4 separate regions of the Homo sapiens genome follow, and regions 1, 3 and 4 are each linked to region 2. The links are contacts of gene promoters, found by promoter capture Hi-C in blood cells and fetal thymus (Javierre and others, 2016). All regions are on one chromosome and are shown on one strand. Each heading gives the region's core, a stretch centred on a gene start or on the middle of the fragment in contact. The rest is flanking DNA. Distances are from core to core; before and after follow the strand shown. Region 1 overlaps ZCCHC2 (zinc finger CCHC-type containing 2). Region 2 holds the start of PIGN (phosphatidylinositol glycan anchor biosynthesis class N). Region 3 overlaps ZCCHC2 (zinc finger CCHC-type containing 2). Region 4 has its middle 16 kb from the start of ZCCHC2.

The links. The method cuts DNA at HindIII sites, captures the fragments that hold promoters and counts their contacts. A CHiCAGO score of 5 or more calls a contact.
Region 1: a fragment that was not itself captured here is called in contact with the fragment with the promoter of PIGN in region 2 in 2 of 17 cell types (megakaryocytes and endothelial precursors); the score reaches 5.6 in megakaryocytes.
Region 3: a contact is called between a fragment that was not itself captured here and the fragment with the promoter of PIGN in region 2, in 15 of 17 cell types (megakaryocytes, erythroblasts, total B cells and 12 more). The highest score is 15.2, in megakaryocytes.
Region 4: a fragment that was not itself captured here is called in contact with the fragment with the promoter of PIGN in region 2 in 1 of 17 cell types (naive CD4 T cells); the score reaches 5.7 in naive CD4 T cells.

What each region holds. Positions count from the first base shown.
Region 1 is chr18:62,555,233-62,559,666 of GRCh38, forward strand. ZCCHC2 (zinc finger CCHC-type containing 2) reads left to right here. Exons shown (of 14, transcript NM_017742.6): 6 at 971-1,065; 7 at 3,455-3,538. Among named protein-coding and RNA genes, the nearest start is that of ZCCHC2, 34 kb to the left of the region's middle. RefSeq lists a silencer at 3,270-3,369. The HindIII fragment of the contact is 1,636 bases long and covers 1,883-3,518 here.
Region 2 is chr18:62,183,689-62,188,461 of GRCh38, forward strand. It overlaps PIGN (phosphatidylinositol glycan anchor biosynthesis class N), which reads right to left and starts at 3,368. Exons shown (of 31, transcript NM_176787.5): 1 at 3,156-3,368. RELCH (RAB11 binding and LisH domain, coiled-coil and HEAT repeat containing) reads left to right here and starts at 3,567. Exons shown (of 29, transcript NM_001346231.2): 1 at 3,567-4,343. The coding sequence starts at 3,818. RefSeq lists silencers at 2,870-3,082, 4,033-4,252 and an enhancer at 3,673-3,882. The HindIII fragment of the contact is 4,021 bases long and covers 1,342-4,773 here.
Region 3 is chr18:62,574,637-62,579,493 of GRCh38, forward strand. ZCCHC2 (zinc finger CCHC-type containing 2) reads left to right here. Exons shown (of 14, transcript NM_017742.6): 13 at 1-914; 14 at 1,876-3,943. The coding sequence ends at 1,943. Among named protein-coding and RNA genes, the nearest start is that of ZCCHC2, 54 kb to the left of the region's middle. The HindIII fragment of the contact is 777 bases long and covers 2,671-3,447 here.
Region 4 is chr18:62,505,059-62,509,355 of GRCh38, forward strand. No RefSeq gene overlaps it. Among named protein-coding and RNA genes, the nearest start is that of ZCCHC2, 16 kb to the right of the region's middle. RefSeq lists an enhancer at 1,250-1,499. The HindIII fragment of the contact is 327 bases long and covers 2,729-3,055 here.

The DNA of each region.
Region 1 (4,434 bases), core at 1,451-3,950, 370 kb after region 2:
TTTGCCCAAGAGCCCTTTTACAGGTACCACTGTCGGGAAGACCTCCAGCTGGAGTCTTTTAATTACATTAATAAAATATGAGGAAAGCTGGGTTTCAAAGATAACTTTGACTCATGGCATGATACACATTCAACATGAGTCATCAGTTAGTCATGCCTTAGGTTGTAGAATATATGTATGATATATGATAACTACATAATTGACTGTTCCATATTTTTCAGGACTCTTAGCATCCCAAACTTCCCAACCTCCCACTTTGAGAGTGTGGGAATGCCCGTTAATACTACAGCCAAAGGCCAGGCTCAGTGGCTCACGCCTGTAATCCCAGCACTTTGAGAGGCCGAGGTGGGCAGATCACCAGAGGTCAGGAGTTCGAGACTAGCCTGACCGACATGGTGAAACCCCGTCTCTACTAAAAATACAAAATTAGCCAGGCGTGGTGGCACATGCCTGTAATCCCAGCTACTCGGGATGCTGAGACAGGAGAATAGCTTGAACCTGGGAGGCGGAGGTTGCAGTGAGCTGAGATCGCGCCATTGCACTCCATCCTGGGCAATAAGAGCAAAATTCAGTCTCAAAAAAAAAAAAAGTACAGCCAAATAAGGAGAAGAACACCTGTGGAGAAGAGTAAAGAAATTGCAGTTGTTTTTCTGAACAGAAGGGTGGCTATTGGACCACTTGGGCAAAGGCTGAAATAATACATTTTTGGGCCAGTATTGAAAACTTACCATTAGATTATACAAAATTAAAAATGAACCTATTTAGTCGATTCTTGCAAATGAATTTTGTTAAATGTTACTGACTTCTTCCCATAGGAAATACATTAGAAAATAATATTCTTTTCTATAGGAAAAATATTTTTCCATACCTGAATTAAACTGCCACTTCATTCTGCTTTATAATTGAAACTGAGCTTCTTGTGGATTAACATTACCTGAAATTAACAAATCTCTTTTCTTTTTATGTGCAGGCAGCTATTTTCAAGTTCATCACAAGCTTTTCTACAAAGTCAGAAAGTACACAGCTTCTTTCAGTCCATATCATCAGACTCCCTACACAGTATCAGTAAGCATCCTCTGTCCCTCTGTGGAAATCTTTTTTCTTTGTTGGATTTTATTGCTTTACTGTGTCATTTTGTGTAGGTTTGTCACTTTAGTTAAAGTTAAGGAATAGTGACATACATTTTTAATGTCATTTTTAATGAGTTTTTACACTGCAGTTTTAAAGAAGGTCATGAATAAAAGCTAATATAACAGAGCAGACTGATTCCAAGGTAAGGCCTGAGTCTCTCTAGTCTTTGGGGCATGGCCAGTCCTTCATTTCCTGGGCAGGAACTGTTCCCTCACAGGCTGGAGACCTTACAGTGCCACGTGCTGGTGTATGATCTAGTCTGTCTTCCTCCTGTCACCTGTTCCCAATTGACCTTTCCAGCCGATCAGACAGAAAATGTTAGCCCTGTTCTTCTCACTCTGCCTCTTTGTTTTCATCACGGAAAGGACAACCCATACTAGACAAAGGATGTCTTCCTTTATGTCCCTTCGTCACCATCCCTTTGTTTACAGTTAGGCCTTTCTTTCATGCACGGACTATTAAAGGTAAACCCTCACTCTTTTCTCAGATTCTAGTTTCCCACTCTGATCTATCCCTGGATTATCACAAGGATAAATGTGTTAAATTCCTGCTTGGTCTGAAATTCAGGCCTCACTGTGACCTTCCGGGAGCTTCCTTCTGCTCCCTGTGCTCTGTCTCCTAGCATGCCCAGCTGTTGCCTGCCCTGTGTCTTTGCTCATTTGTACCCTTACTTAAACATACATCCTTTTGTCATAGCCCATTAAAATCACACCTGTTTTAAGGCCCAGCTGAAACATCACCTCTTCCACGAAGCTTTGCCAGTTTTTCTTATGTTCCGTATGTTGAGTTTTGCCCTCTTATTTCACCTTTCACCACTGTCTGCCTTGTGTTTAATTTTCTACACATCTACCTCAGCCTGCCTTTTACAAATATTTTGTCAGTAACATTGGCGTGTCCTTTAGCAGAATTTCTGCTGAACTTCAGGCATAGCTATGGCAAGGAACATTTTTCTTTTTTAAAACTGTCCCTCTGCTCTCAAGAGAGTCATTTTTTCCTGTATTTAAAGGGGAAAGAAAAACACATATTTCCTCAATTTGAGGTGTGAGAAAAAGAGGTGCAAGAATAGTATGATTGTTACACGGGCTAACCTTTAAAGTTTCTCTAATTAAGTGTGTTAATGCTAACGTAATTATCAATCCGAATTAAAAATATGACTCTTTGTGATTAGTTGACCAAGACAAAATGTACAACTTCATGATTAAATTTATGTCTGAATGATAACAACAGCATTTATTAAAGAGAATCCTGATCATTCTGTAGCTATGTAGATTTAACCATCAGTGCTTTCCCCCTGCGCCAAATGTGTTTTTTATTGAACATGTATCAATAGCATCAGTTTAGTTTCAAAAAGGCATTGAATTGAGCACAAAGTTAAACTTTTAGTTCAGATGAACAGGCTGCTCAGGAAAACTCACCCAAGTGAGGAGTTCATATATAAGTAATAAACTCATCTTGAGGGTGTGGCAGTATTTAAATTACATGAGCAGTGCTAAAGAGGTTGGTGGATTTTGTTTTTAGGTTGTAAAATTAAAACACTGTATGAAAGTACAGAACTTGAGATTGTGGGAAATCTTGTCAGCCTAACGTTCTTACATATCTGAGTTGTTTCACTAGTGAATATACTGTTGTCAGGGTTCATTTGCATACACTGTTGGGTTTTTTTTTTTTAATTGATAGCTTTATCTTTTTATTCTCTGGTACAGAGAGCATCACTCCATATCCTGAAAACTAGCGCTGAAAAAAAATAATGCTAAAGTCCTGAATGAGTTAAGATGTTGAACTGTGGAGTCCTGCTGGCCTGTATTTTAATGGGGAAGTAATCCAAAATGTGTTGCATGGGCCAGTGCTGGTCCATAAATTGCTTGTTACTGTTCTGTAACACGAGAACAGAAATTGAGAGCAGACACTGAGAGATTAACAATTTGACAGTGCCACGTTATTTTATTGTATTTTACAAAAGTAACGATCCACAGCAAACTGAAGATTTAAAAAAATGAAAACTGAATCTTTACCACACCACAGATGTTTAAGAAGCACCTTTCTACTTTATTTCCTCATTTTGCACATGAGCACACTGGGGCTGACAGATATGAAATGACTTGTCCAGGTCAGTCGCTCTTCAGGGAACAGCTGGCCTCTTGAACACGGTTCCCACTCACAGTCTAGTGCTTTGGGCTGTGTCATCTTGCCTTCTCACTAGTAGCCATGTTTTCTTCACCACTCACCCTCCATTCATTTTCCTTAGGTAAAAAAACAATTATTATATTTGTTTTCTTTATTTTAATTTTCCTAAAAAGTTAATAGTATTGAATGCTTCCTGCAGATAACTTACAATCCTCTCTGAAGACTTCTAAGATATTAGAACACTTAAAAGAAGACAGCTCTGAAGCTTCAAGTCAAGAAGAAGGTAAAGGTAGATTCACTAGAGTAAATCATTCTGCCTGCTGATAGCACATGGATAGAACATTTAAGGAGTGAAGAAACTGACATATAGGAATTGGAATGTGACAGAGGTTGCATTACAAATAAGTGGAGAAGGAATAGACCATTCAATAAATGGTGTGTGGAGAAAGAATAAATTGTTCAATAAATGGTGTGTGGACAAAGAATAGACCGTTCAATAAATGGTGTTGGCACAATTGATTTTCCATATGAAAAAATAGGTATAATTAGATTCCCAGTTACATCATGCAGAAGACATTCAAGTGAATAACAACTTATATGTAAAATGTAAAACTTAAACTTTTCAATGTTAATTTGGGAGGAGAAGCCTTTCTTGAATAAAGTAGAGCATGACCACGGTAGAGATCTTAATAAATTAGAGCTTCTCTGTGACAAAAGGAACCATATAGCCAGGAGACCATCCATAGATTGAGAGATGGTGTTTGCAAGATATTTACAGATAAGACTATATCCAGACTATGGAAGGATCTTCCTAAAAAGTCAATGAGACAATCATCCCAACAGAAATATAGGTGAAAGACATAAATAGGTGATTCTGAGATGAGGAAACCTGAACAGCTATTACATAATGTGCAGCCTCACTGGTAGTCAGGAAAATGCAAATGGAAACAGGTGTCATCTCACACTCAGCAGATTGACAAAACATTTTGGAGTCTGACATCAAGGATATGAAGCAGTGGGAACTCTCAGGCACTGCTGATGGGGATATAAATTGACAGAACTATTTTGGACGAAATTTGGTGCTGTGTAGTGAAGTTGGAGATAATTATATGCTGCTGTCCAGCAATCCTGCATCTATGAGAATTGTTACACACCTGCAAAAGGGGACATGGGCCCGGG
Region 2 (4,773 bases), core at 2,118-4,617:
GTCTTATGCACTTAGTAAGGACTCAAATGTTTGCTGAATAAATTATTTAGAATTATCATTTCAAGGGTAAATGCAATATGCACTACAGCCACTAGAGGATGCCCTGCTTCTGTTTTTGTTCCTCCAGAACAAGATGTGAAGACTGAAAATACTTTAAAAAAAAAAAAACTAAACCTTTTATGATAAAGTAATTTACTATTAATGTAAATAAAATTGCAGTTATTACAAAATATCAGCATTCACTAACTACTTATTTTAATTAGTTTAATTGCTTAATACTAAATATTACTTAATACTTCTCTTTAAAGAAAATCACAATTTATTCAGATTTATTGAAAAAGAAATACCTCCAAAACAAACACATAACTATTAAAATTTTAAAAAGATATATGCATGTACCAATACAAGTTATCTAGTTTATCTGTGGATGTTTACCACACACTGAAAAACAATAAAACATGAGGTATTACTAAAACCTCAAGTCAACCAAAACTTGCATTCAGAATATTACTTGTGGTTCTTTTAAGACTATTAAAACCTAAAATAATTTTTTAAATACTAAAATGATTGACGTGCTTTGAAAAAAGGCATCTTTTACATCTTCATTGCTAAGGCACAAGCTTTAATAACTATCATTAGTCAGATGAAACATTAGTTGTAAGGGCCTAGATTAATGAAAATCTTACTAAGTAGAAAGGAAATTTCCCAACACTATTAATAATACATTATTATAAGTAGTGATCGGTAATTTTTAATATTCCAGTGTGTGTTACTTATACATTATTCACGAATAACCAAACCTCTGTGTATTGTGGAAAAGAAAAGTACATACTGGGAAGACTGGGCAGTTGATTTCTAATGGGCTTACAAGATCAAACACACAAGTTCATGGTTATAGGATAGGAGGCAGAAATAGAAGCAGAAAACCACAGATTTGTATGGGAAGAATTCCTCTACATGCAAGTTCTTACAACTCTGAGGAAACATTTTAAATCTATTTTCAACTTGTGTTTTAGAACTGAGACCCCAAATTAAAGATACTCCCTTCAGCCCTACTGACTTAATTGCTTTTTCAGGCTTGCACTGCCAAAACGATTGATATTAGTTTTATTTTTAAACACTTGTCAAATGTTCTCAACACATACTAATATTTCAATAATTAATAAGTGACCACAGTAATAGTTATTGTGTAGCAGGTACCAGGCACTGGGACAAGAACATTCTCAATTCTGTGTACTTTCCTTATCCCCTTTGATAGACGAATGCAAGTGAGGCTGAGAAGTTAGGTAACTTTTTCAAGGTCTCACAATAAATAATGAGTAGAATTGGGATCTGAACTTAAGCTTTTCTATCTTATAAGCATAATCCTCTTCAGGAATCCTAAATGCAGGAGATTTCTCAATTTCCCAATCATGGAGATGGAAATATTGTATATAAACAATCCATTTCTAATCATGCCCTTCCCATGCCATTCACTAATCCTCCATTCCTGGATTCCAGAAATTGGTTCCATTTTAATCTCTCTGGAAAATCCAACTAAAATACGGATCAGCAATCCCTTTTGCTAAGAAATCTCTAACAGGATACAGTATTTGCCATTTCAATTCTATTTGGGGGGATTTTTTTCCCCATGTTTTACTTTTAATATATGGCACAGAAAACTATTTATCATTAAAACATTGGGAACTAATGTCCTATAAAAAAATAGTTTAAATTCTTGGTACTTTTTTTTTAAACTTCTAGCAAAAATAAAATTTTAAAAACCCAAATCCCCATTCAAATGAAAATTTTAGTTTATTGAGCCTGGGTATATTGAAATTAAAGCCTACTCTTAACTGTTGGCATACTTTTACATGTAAACCAATAACCTGACCTAAGGTTATGTAAGAATCGTCTATTTTAATTTTTCCATGGAGCTAACGGGAGATACTTTACTGTGGAATGTTTACTACACACTGAATGTAATATGTCACTTACCTGTACACTAAGAAAGGAAATCTAAAGCCTGGAAAAGTGGTCATTTGTGTGTGAAAAAAATAGGAGCCATAAGAAATAGCAGTCTAATTGTATTGACTGGAAATTCCTTTACCTTTTCAGATCATAATCAAGGAATGACATAAAAGATAAACGTTGATCTTCTAAACTTAGGATATGTACTTTATATGCTAACATTTCATCAAAAAAATCAAAACTCTCTGAAGCATTCAACTTTTAAAATAGTTCTAAGTTCCAAAACCTTGATTCTAGCCTGCATGAACGAGTCAGAAATGTTGCAGGAGACAGTGGATAAAGAATCGTTTGGGACATAAGAGAAATGATGTTAATTCCTTTGACTCCTTATTAGCGGAATTGATTTTTTTTTTTTTTTTTTTTTTTTTTTGAGACGGAGTCTCGTTCTGTCGCCCAGGCTGGAGTGCAGTGGCGCGACCTCGGCTCACTGCAATCTTCGCCTCCGGGGTTCAAGCGATTCTCCTGCCTCAGCCTCCTGAGTAGCTGGGATTGCAGGCTTGCGCCACCACGCCCAACTAATTTTTGTGTTTTTAGTAGAGAAGGGGTTTCACCATGTTGGTCAGGCTGGTCTCGAACTCCCGACCTCGTGATCCGCCCGGCTCGGCCTCCCAAAGTGCTGGGATTACAGGCGTGAGCCACCGCGCCCGGCGTGGAGCTGATTTTATAACAACCACTCTTGGCTTAAGTTTACTTATCTGTCTACTGGTGAGACAGCATTAGATATTCTGAAGGGTCCCTGTTGTGTAAATCGTGTATTAAATCCTAAGCGTTTATTGAGTACCTAACAATTTGTTTTCCAACTCGACGATGTTCCCAGATCCAGGCAAATGCCAACCTCAGCGTTCCCTTTTCCGTTTAGTCTCTCCAGCCCCCGTCCCCACCCACAGGCAGGACCACCTCCGGGGCTGAGAAGTCGTGCTGTCGCTAGGCCTCCCGAGTGTGCAAGCATGTGGCAGAGAAGGGAAAAGAAAGGAAGTCACATTCCGACTACAGGCCTGGGCACTTGCTATCCATGGGGACAAAATGTCACCACTGGCAGCAAATAGCGAGAAAAAGTGCAGCGCAGTAGGGAAACAGCGCGTCCGCGGGCGCGACACCACAGTTTGGGCGCCGACACCCTCCGCGCACTGGTCCCTGAACTTTACCTGGAGCTTATCCCGGTCAGGCCTGATCTCGAAAACGAGGGCTCCTCAGCGCGAAGGCAGGACCCAGCTCCATTAAAGCTCTCGGGCAGTGGTCCCCTCTACCCACTGAAGCGATAGCCGGGAGGGTATTCCTAAGCCACCACTACAACCACCCCTCAATTCCGGAACGCCCCCAATACCTGCCCGGCCGCTGCTGCTATCGCGATAATTCTCGGGCCAGTCTCCCGTCAGTCCGCTCCACGCCTTCCTTCTCTGACCAATCATGGAGGAGTCGTGGGTGGAGTTTTGCTTTTGAGCGGAGAGCGGGGCCTTCAATCTTTGCTATCTGGCGCTGGGAATGGGCGGAGCTGAAGTGGGCTGGGGCGGGGCTGGGGCGGGGCTAGATCGGGGAGAGGGGCAGGGGCACGCTCCAGTTCTCGCGAGACTGGAGACCAGGAAGACGCCTGCAGAGCCGGGCTGCTGGTGCAGCAGAGGCTGAGGCATCAGGTGCAGCTGCATCCGGATCTCCTGCCTTGGAGCGTACTCCTTGTCTCTAAGTCGGGAGGCAGGACGTGGTCAGGCCGGGGCTGTGGAGGTGCGCTGTGTCCCCTGAGGCCTAGAGGATTCGGGCTGCGGCCCGTCGGAACCAGTCAGGGAGGCGCCCACACTCCTGACAGGATAAGATGGCGGCGATGGCGCCTGGAGGTAGTGGCAGTGGTGGCGGCGTGAATCCATTTCTCAGTGATTCGGATGAGGACGATGACGAGGTAGCTGCAACAGAGGAACGGCGGGCAGTACTTCGGCTGGGCGCCGGAAGTGGCCTAGATCCTGGCTCTGCGGGCTCGCTGTCGCCACAGGATCCCGTGGCCTTAGGAAGCAGTGCGCGGCCAGGGCTCCCTGGGGAGGCGTCGGCGGCTGCAGTGGCCCTGGGGGGCACCGGGGAGACCCCGGCCCGATTATCAATTGATGCGATCGCTGCTCAGCTGTTGCGCGATCAATACTTGCTGACCGCCCTGGAGCTGCATACCGAGCTGTTAGAGAGTGGCCGGGAGCTGCCTCGGCTGCGCGACTACTTCTCCAATCCAGGCAACTTCGAGAGGCAAAGTGGAACCCCGCCGGGGATGGGGGCGCCAGGGGTCCCTGGAGCAGCCGGCGTTGGGGGCGCTGGAGGTCGGGAACCGAGTACAGCGTCGGGCGGGGGACAGCTCAGTAAGTGGACGCAGCCTGTCACACTCCGGCAGGGTATTTGGGATTGTACGGAGTTACTGTAGGGGAGAGGGGGTATTTCTGCGTGGGTCCCGATAGGGACATTTTAAGGAACGAGAGTATTGGGGTGGGGGCGCTCTTTTGCGGTGGAAGCAAGAGGATCAGGCAATGACTGTTCTCTCTGCCTGCTTCCAACCCTTGGCTGGTGTTGCACTTGGCTCCTGGCTCCCCTACTGGTGTCAGTATCTATAAAATATCAAGAGTTTCTAGTTCACTGGCTATTACGGGACTCCAGAAGGTTCCCTTTTATACTAGTTTATTGCTTTAAGCATTTTCCTTTTTCTCCAGTTACCTGAATCACACTACCAGGAAATAGTGTTACCTGAATTGCCTGCAGTAGTTCTTTGAGTCTGAGCCAGGAGAGAAAGAATAG
Region 3 (4,857 bases), core at 1,809-4,308, 390 kb after region 2:
TAACCCAGGTAGTTTCCCAGGCTCTCCTGTTGCTACCACGGACCCCATCACAAAATCTGCATCCCAAGTGGTAGGACTCAATCAAATGGTGCCTCAAATTGAGGGAAACACAGGGACAGTCCCTCAGCCTACCAATGTGAAGGTAGTTCTTCCAGCAGCTGGCCTCTCAGCTGCTCAGCCACCAGCTTCCTACCCCTTACCAGGCTCTCCCCTTGCTGCCGGCGTGTTACCCAGCCAGAACTCCAGTGTGCTCAGCACAGCAGCAACTTCTCCCCAGCCAGCGAGCGCAGGTATCAGCCAGGCCCAGGCAACTGTTCCTCCTGCAGTTCCTACCCACACCCCAGGCCCTGCCCCGAGCCCAAGCCCTGCCTTGACACACAGTACCGCGCAGAGTGACAGCACCTCTTACATCAGTGCTGTGGGGAACACGAACGCTAATGGGACAGTAGTGCCACCGCAGCAGATGGGCTCAGGTCCTTGTGGTTCTTGTGGGCGAAGGTGCAGCTGTGGGACCAATGGAAACCTTCAGCTAAATAGTTACTATTATCCTAATCCAATGCCTGGACCAATGTACCGAGTCCCTTCATTCTTTACTCTGCCATCCATTTGCAATGGCAGCTACCTCAACCAAGCACATCAGAGCAATGGAAACCAACTTCCTTTTTTTCTGCCTCAGACTCCATATGCAAATGGACTGGTACATGACCCAGTCATGGGGAGCCAAGCCAACTATGGCATGCAGCAGATGGCAGGATTTGGGAGATTCTATCCTGTATATCCAGCACCTAACGTAGTTGCCAACACCAGTGGTTCGGGGCCCAAGAAGAATGGGAATGTCTCATGTTACAATTGTGGTGTAAGCGGACACTATGCACAGGACTGTAAGCAGTCGTCCATGGAGGCCAATCAACAAGGTAATCACAATAACTCCCAGAGGACTTGTTTTTGAGTTCACTCATTTCTCCTTCCTTTCCTTATTGATCATGGGATTCTGTTGTAGCAGAAAGATCTGTTTGTGTTTTCGTTTATGGATATTGTTTTCAGTGACAGATCATAAAATGCAACTGGAAAAACAGTGTAGACCCAGGTCACACAGAGCACAAGGAAGTTCAGAGGAATTCAGTTTCCAATTAAGGAATAAACTCTAAAGGCCCTTTTGAAGGAGTGTGATGGGAATTTGCATTCTGTAATGTTAAATCTCTTGCTTGCAGCACTTTTTTTTTTTAAGCTACAATCCTGTTTCATAGAGTAAGCAAAATTTTTAAATATTGAAAACCTAGGAAGTAATTTAGTTATCTGACATTAGGTTTTGAGTAACTATTTAGTATATCTGCATAACCAGCTGCCTCATGCCTGTTTCCCCATGCTACCCTTTTCCTTCCCAGCAAATGTTAAAAAAAAAAAGGTCCAAGATTCTATTGCATTAATACAGGAACAAAATAGTTCAGTACTATTTTGATTTGAGAGTAAAGGAATTTGAACAAAGTTTAATATTACTACCACCAGAAAGAAGAAAATGGTCTTACCTATGTTTGAGTAAGATACCAAATTTTATGTCAACTTCAGGCTGTTATTTTCACTTGCATTTGACCTTTGTCGTTTTGCCAAATCTTACCCAGAAACAAAAAAAGTCTTAAATTGGGAATATATTTACTTGGCATTCTTAAAGAAAGATCAAGTTTGATAGCTTTTAGATTGAATTCAAAGCACAAACTTTACATTGCTTTTTAAAGTGAGCGGATTGGCCATTTGGAGTGGCACTAGAGCTGACGAAGGTGCCTTGTGGAGAGCATGCCCGTGTGATAGCTTGTACGTAGTGGTTTGTGATGACGTTTGCTTGTAAGCGGTGACTTAGTTCTGTCTTTCCCATTTTAGGCACTTACAGACTGAGATACGCACCTCCCCTCCCCCCTTCTAATGATACGTTGGATTCTGCAGACTGAAACGAGTAAAGCTTGCCTACTTAATACACTCAAGTGTGGGGAGTCATGGGGTGTGGAGGGGAGGAAAGGAAAGGTATTTTGTTTCTTTGTCTATACATTTCCTAGATTTCTATGCAGTTGGGATTTTTCATTTCTCTTGTACCAATGTCCAAAACAAGAAAGAATGCAATGCTTTTGAGCCTCTGGTCTCCTGGTTCAACAACAGGCTTATATGTATGATACATGTAATTTAAACCTTCAGACAAACTTAAATGTTGGTGCGTGCTTTTTTTTTTTTTTTTACACTGAATACTTGCTGTGTGCAATGTTTACTGAATCTTTAAAACTGTGTATTTGACCTTTTTTTTACAACACTGGTGACAGTCATATGGTTTTGAAAAAAAAAAGAAATTTTGCTTCTTCCCAGCTTTTCTCACTTTCACCCTAAACGACACTTCCTCCCCAGCCAGCCTCACTCTGTCTCCGGCCCGCAGCAGGAGCAGCCAGCAGTGCATTCACCCCACTTTTGTAAACTGCTCTGCATATAAACCAAGGGCAGAATGTTTCACCCTGATCTTATGGGAGGAATCAAACTCCCAAAATAGTGTGTATATATGTAATAAACAGCGTCACGTAAATACATATATGCAGTGCTTGTTGTCCAAATAGAAATGAAAATAAGTGGAAGAGAGAGGAAGAAGTCAAACCATATGAAACTGAAAAAATATGACGTACGAAATGGACAAAAAGCTTTTTCTGAAACCAACTTTTTACTTCCATCATCCTTTTTTAGCCTGTTGCTTCAGAGAGACACAAAGTGAACACACTGGTGTGAATGTCGCTCTCTGTGTGCTTGTGTTTGTAATGAAAGTCTACAGCCAATTTTACTTGTCTACCACCGTGTTGTGCTCAAAGAGACACTACTTGAGTGAAGATTTCTTCTTTCCCTGTACCAGCTGTTACAGTGTTACGTTGTGTTTAAAATGTGTATGGTTTATTGCAATCTGAACAGAGCTATGGGTTTCTACCATAAGTCAGGTTGTTTGTTCCCTAACCTGTCTCTCATAGCAAAGTCACTTTTATAACAGTTTACCACTATGCTTGATTATAATGTGAAAGGCGGAATTCTGAGTGTGTTAAGATGGTATTAATCATGTCGGTGTCATGTCACTAAGTTTAATGCTGCTGTTTTTAAAAAAAAAAAAAAGTTTTTTTAAAAAGCCAATCTATGTACTAAATTGCTTCCAGGTAATTTTTGATTTCCTAAAGTGCACTGAGGTTATCTGGAAGATTGGGTGTATTTTTTGGTGACTGCTGCATTCATCAGCAATGAACAGTTTCCACTGTATAGTCCTAGGGGTCAGGGGGTGGGGGTTTCATTTTCCATTCCTCAGCACAGAGCAGAAATGATAGATTTTTATTGTTTGGAGTAACGTTGGTATGCAGCAGAGGAACGTAAACATTTGGTCTTGGTTCAGAAGCCTAACAGATTGCTAGACAAGAGAAAAAACTTGAAGAAAAAAGAAGCTTAATTTCATGCTTCATAAGTAGCATTTATATTTATAGCACCAATGTACATTTTGAAACTTTCTTTCAGGGGTGGGAGTTATGGGGAAGGGGTGGGTGTGAAGGGGTAGATGAAAGCTTTAATTTAGAAAGAAAGTTCAAGTAAAGGAAATTATTTTGATTAAATATATTTTATTTGATCTGGGTATTTTTGGACCACATTATTAAATTAATTGTTAAGCTGCAGTTGAGTTGTTCAAGTGAGAGTTTTGATAAGCCACTTATGGGCCGCGTTGTGAATCACTTGCCAGTTGTACTTTATGGAGCTTATTTTATGATTTAAAATACTGTACTGTACATAGGAGGTATGTTACCTTCTCCTTATTTGTATGTTTACCATATACTTTGATATTTGAAATGTTATGTACTGGAAAGGCCACTTATATTTCTAGAACAGATTGGATTTTATGCAACCTTTTTTCCTTGAATTAACAGCAATAAAAAAATGAAAAACAGCTTAAGAATTGTGCCTCATTGTAAATTTTGTAAAAGTGGAGATAGGACATCATACATGGCGATTTTTTTAAAGTTTTATTTAGGTATGTAATTATTTTGGGGTTAAGGATCAATCCATTTCCCTGCAGGGTGGGCAGTGAATCCCAAAGTTATTTACCATCTGGATGCTCCTCAGTTCTTCCCCCAAATAACCTTTTTGTTTTTGAGACGGGGTCTTGCTCTGTCGCCCAGGTTGGAGTGCAGTGGCGGGATCTCAGCTCCCTGCAACCTCTGCCTCCCTGGATTCAAGCGATTCTCCTGCCTCCGCCTCCTGAGTAGCTGGGATTACAGGTATGTACCATGACACCCAGCTAATTTTTGTATTTTTAGTAGAAACGGGGTTTCACCATGTTGGCCAGGCTGGTCTTGAACTCCTGACATCAAGTGATCTGCCTGCCTCTGCCTCCCAAAGTGGTGGGATTACAGGCATGAGCCTCCATGCCCGGCCTCCCAAGTAACTTTATATAGAGGTAATCTGCGTGACCACTAGAGAAAGGGGGACTGCACTCCGTGAGTTTTGAGTACTCGGCTGCGTGCCAAACACTATGGTAGCAATGAGGCAGAGTCCTTGTCAACCTTGAGCTCGTATTTCCAGTTTAGGCCTTTAGCCACTAAAAGTGTAAAGGACTCATTACTTTATCAACTTTGTTAGTGTGATTTTATTAGCCAGGCCCCTCTCTCAGTATAATGTGTACTATTTTTTATTTCATTGCTTATCTTGGCTGTAATCCAGGCTCAAAGTTTTTAAACGGTTGGTAATTTATAAGAGACGGTTGGGGGCCTGTGTGTGTTGCTCCACGCCGCCCTTGACGCAGTCCTGGTGGCCAGCACCGTCCTGGGCCTTGGCTCTTTGTCAGGAGCCATCTAATGACTG
Region 4 (4,297 bases), core at 1,642-4,141, 320 kb after region 2:
TAAAATGACAACAACCACCAGACTCTTGACCCTCTCTCAGGTACCACACTTGAGCCCAGGACCTCTGTGGAGCTGCCTCCATGGGAATCAACCACAGTCCCCAAGAACATCCAGGTTAGTCCTTCATGGCTAAGCCAGTCCTGAGGGGCCAGGAAGCAGTCTATTCCCATTCTACCGTTTATTGAGGCTTGGGAAGTGTCACACATCCCAGAGCAGTTTCTGATCACCCTGTGTCACAACCCCTCCCCTCCAGCCCTCTGTTCAGCAGATCTTGGATGTTGTACCCTGCACTGGCTACATAATTTGCAGAGCCTGTATGAAATGAAATTGTGGGGATGTCTCTTAACAAAATTAAGAATTTCACCATGACGCCAGGACAGTGGCTCACATCTGTAATCCCAGCATACTGGGAGGCCAGGGTGGGAGGTTCGCTTGAGCTCAGGAGTTTGAGACCAGGCCGGGCAACACAGTGAGGCCCTATCTCTACAAAGAAGAGAAGAAACAACTTAGCCAAGCGTGGTGGGGCACGCCTGTGGTCCCAGCTACTAAAGAAGTTGAGGTGGGAGGACTACTGGAGGTTGAGGTGGCAGTGAGCTGTATTTGCACCATTGTACTCCAGCCTGGGCATCAGAGTGAAACCTTTTCTCAAAAAAAAAAAAAAGAAAAGAAAAAATATCAAGAAGGTGTTGGCAGAACATTTAGGGCCCTTCTGAGCTCAGGGTCCTGTCTGCATGGGTCCCCTGCCCTGGTGGTGTCCCGTCCCTGTCTCCTGTCCCCGCTCCATGGCTGCTTTATCACACTATGGAGTCCCACTCTGAGGATGACGATTGCTTGTACCCTGTCTGAGCCACCTTGGGCCACTCAGCTGTCCTCACAGAGCCTCCTTCTGAAGCCAGATTGGTTGAATATCCTCCTGTCTTCTCTCATGGCCTCTTGCACATGACCTGGGAGTCAGTTTGCCTGCACCCACAATGGGCTCTGCAGTATGTCTGGCTGCTGCGAGAGCTCACTTACACCAACAAGGTAAGCATGGTAGCCCCAAGGCCCTGGTCCAGTGGAGGAGCCAAGATCTGATGACCTCCAAGACCCCCTCAAGCCCTGAAGTTCTGTATTTAATTGAGGCTGGCATGTACTGTTACACCTATTTTCACAGATGAGTAAACTGAGACTCAGAGAACGTCAGTGGCTGCAGCAAGGTCATGCAGCTCACACTGCTGGTTAAGAGTTTCTTTCAAGTGTAACGTAGGAAAATGTACAACATTTATTGGTTTTACTTTTGATAATACTGGCTCATATATAGTTACCTGCTAGGTCTCTGTTAAGATCGAGACTTTTTTTTTTTTTAAATAGCTTTGCTGGCTAAGTTTCAGTTTCGTTTCATTTTCCTCCTATCACTTAAGTTTCAGTTCTGTTTCTCAGGATATTCTCTTTCCCTTTTTACTAGTATTATCTGATTCTGTTTGTTAGAATTGTTCCTTGGTGCCCTTTAACCTGATTAAAATGAACAGTTATTCTAAGGTAGATATTCCCAAGCAGGAATTTTAAACAGAGGTAAACCTTAGTACCTTGCCAATTTATTCCAGCATTGGCAAAATGTATCTGCTGTAGTAGAGCATAAATTTGTCCAATCGCTGCCTGAGTACCTATGTGTTCGTGGCTTGATTTACCTTATCTGTAATTCCTGGATGTTAAAAGGACACCAAAAATCTCTGACACCCTGATTAGCCTACCTTGAAGAACCCAAGCCCAGGATTTCTGCCTTTGCCTAGAAAAAGGACTGATTCAGAACTTCCTGAGCTACCTAGTATTCTGGCCATAAAGTGGAGGAAAGGAATCTATAATCCCATTTTCTTCTTTTCATTCATAGCTTATTCTCAGTTCTGCAAAAATCCAAACTGCCCCAGGGCTCATGGGACAACATAAACTAGAAAGTTTGTGGGAAAGATTTAAACTGGCCACCAAGTGGTTAGACACTCGCCAGACCTGACGGCACTTGGCGGGGTTGGGGGCAGGGGCGGGGGTGGGGAAGATCCAACAATTTGGACAATCACATACTTCAGACACGAAATCACTAAAATGTTTAAACTCTAAAAACTGTCTACTTGAAATTTAAATCCTTGATGCCTCCTCCATATTTGAAATTATATTCTTTTTTATTCAGAAATTATGCCCAATTTTGATGATTTGGAAAACAGAAAAAAAGTAGAAAGAAAAAGACAAAAATCTAAATGGCAATCCAGGCACTAAAACTCATCTTAGCATTTTGGTATATTCCCTCTCATTTCTTCTTTCTACTCATATTTTTGTGTATCATTTTGACTATGTCATATATACAATTTTATATGCTGATTGTTTCCACTTATTGTATTTCCCTGTGTTGATACAAATTTTACCAACTATATTTTTACTAGATACATATTCTCTCATACATATATAAAAATATATATTATATAACTATATATAAATTATAAATTTATATTATATATTTAAATTTAAATTATACATGTTATATAAAACATATAATTTTATATATACATGAGAGAATATTACATATCTAGTAAAAATGTAGTTAGTAAAATTTGTATCAACACAGGGAAATACAAGTGGAAACAATCAGCATATAAAATATTGTGTGTGTATGTATACGTATATATAATGTATTTGCTCATTCACTTTTTTGGGAACAACAATATTACTGATATCCTATTATAAACATGTTTACATACAAAGCTTTTTATTTTTCTGCTTTAGGATTGTTTCCTTAAGTTAAACTCCCCAAAATAGGTGCACTAAAAGGTATGAAAAGTTTTAAGATTCTTGATACATATTGTTAGGTTACTTTACAAGATAGTTGTAACAGTTTACTTTCTAAAAAGGCTGTTTAATGTAAACATTTCTGGTAAAATCACTACTTAAAGTTGTGTGAAGCCAATACTCTGTTAAAAGCAGCCTGTCACACATCTAATTTGTACCAAAAGAAGTCCTTTATTTTACTAATGCCTCTGCAAGGTTTATAGCAGTTCACCAATATGACCACATTTGGACTTTAAAACCAAGCTTTAATCAGTAATGTATTTGACACACAGGCATAAAGAGAAGTATATATATAATGTGGTCCATATCCCGTAGAATAGACAAGAATTCCACATAGAAAGAGTTGCTGGGGAAATCTGGTTGCTGAACTAGGTGGTAAGTGCTACAGTAGTTCAGAGGGAGATGGCACCCGTATGGACTGAAATGGTTGGGGAAGACAGGTTATTGTCTTCTGGAAGTGGTGGAACCTGACAATGAAGAATGGTGGGCCTTAGACACACAGAAGGCTGAGAAGAGCCTTCTAGACCAGGAGAACAGCATTCACAAGGATGTTTATCATAGCGTTGGAAAATGAGGTGACTGGACTAAAATTTCCAATTGTTATGGACTATATTTGTACCCTAAATTCTGATGTGATGAGTATCACTTGAGGCTAGGAGTTGAGGCCAGCCTGGGCAACATAGAGAGACCCCCATCTCTAGAAAATAATAAAATAAAATAAAATAAATAATAAATTCCGATGTGCCATTTCCTGATTTGCATTCAAATAACTCAGTCCTAGGCCAGGAGTGATGGCTCATACCTGTAAGCCCAGCACTTTGGGAGGCCAAGGTGGCCATGAGTTTGAGACCAGCCCGGCCAACATGGTGAAACCCCGTATCTACTAAGAATACAAACATTAGTTGGGCATGGTGGCGCGTGCCTGTAATCCCAGCTACTTGGGAGGCTGAGGCAGGAGAATTGCTTTAACCAGTGAGCCAAGATCGCACCACTGCACTCCAGCCTGGGCAACAGAGCAAGACTCTGTCTCAAAAGAAAAAAAGAAAAGAACTATTTGTGTCTTGCATACCTAAGTATATTTAAAGAAAATTTACAAATATAATCATATAAATTCAGCTTTTTCTTGAACCCTTACTATGTAGAAGTCACCCTGCTAAATTTTATAAGGAATACAAGAAACAATAAGGAGAAGGATGTACCCCCAAGTAAATCACAATTTAACCGAGAAAATATGATATACTTGTGCATCTCTGCACGATGGGAATATGTTCTGAGAAGTGCATCATTACGTGACTTCACTGTTGTGCAAACATCATAGAGTATACTTATACAAACCTAGGTTAACTGAAACATTGTTATACAGTGCATGACTGCATAGAAACACATATCTACCAGTGCAAAATTATTTGTCACAACTTTTACATAGCTTCTATTACCTAATCAGTGTCTTACAAAGAGTGGGCACTCAATATTTATTTGCGAA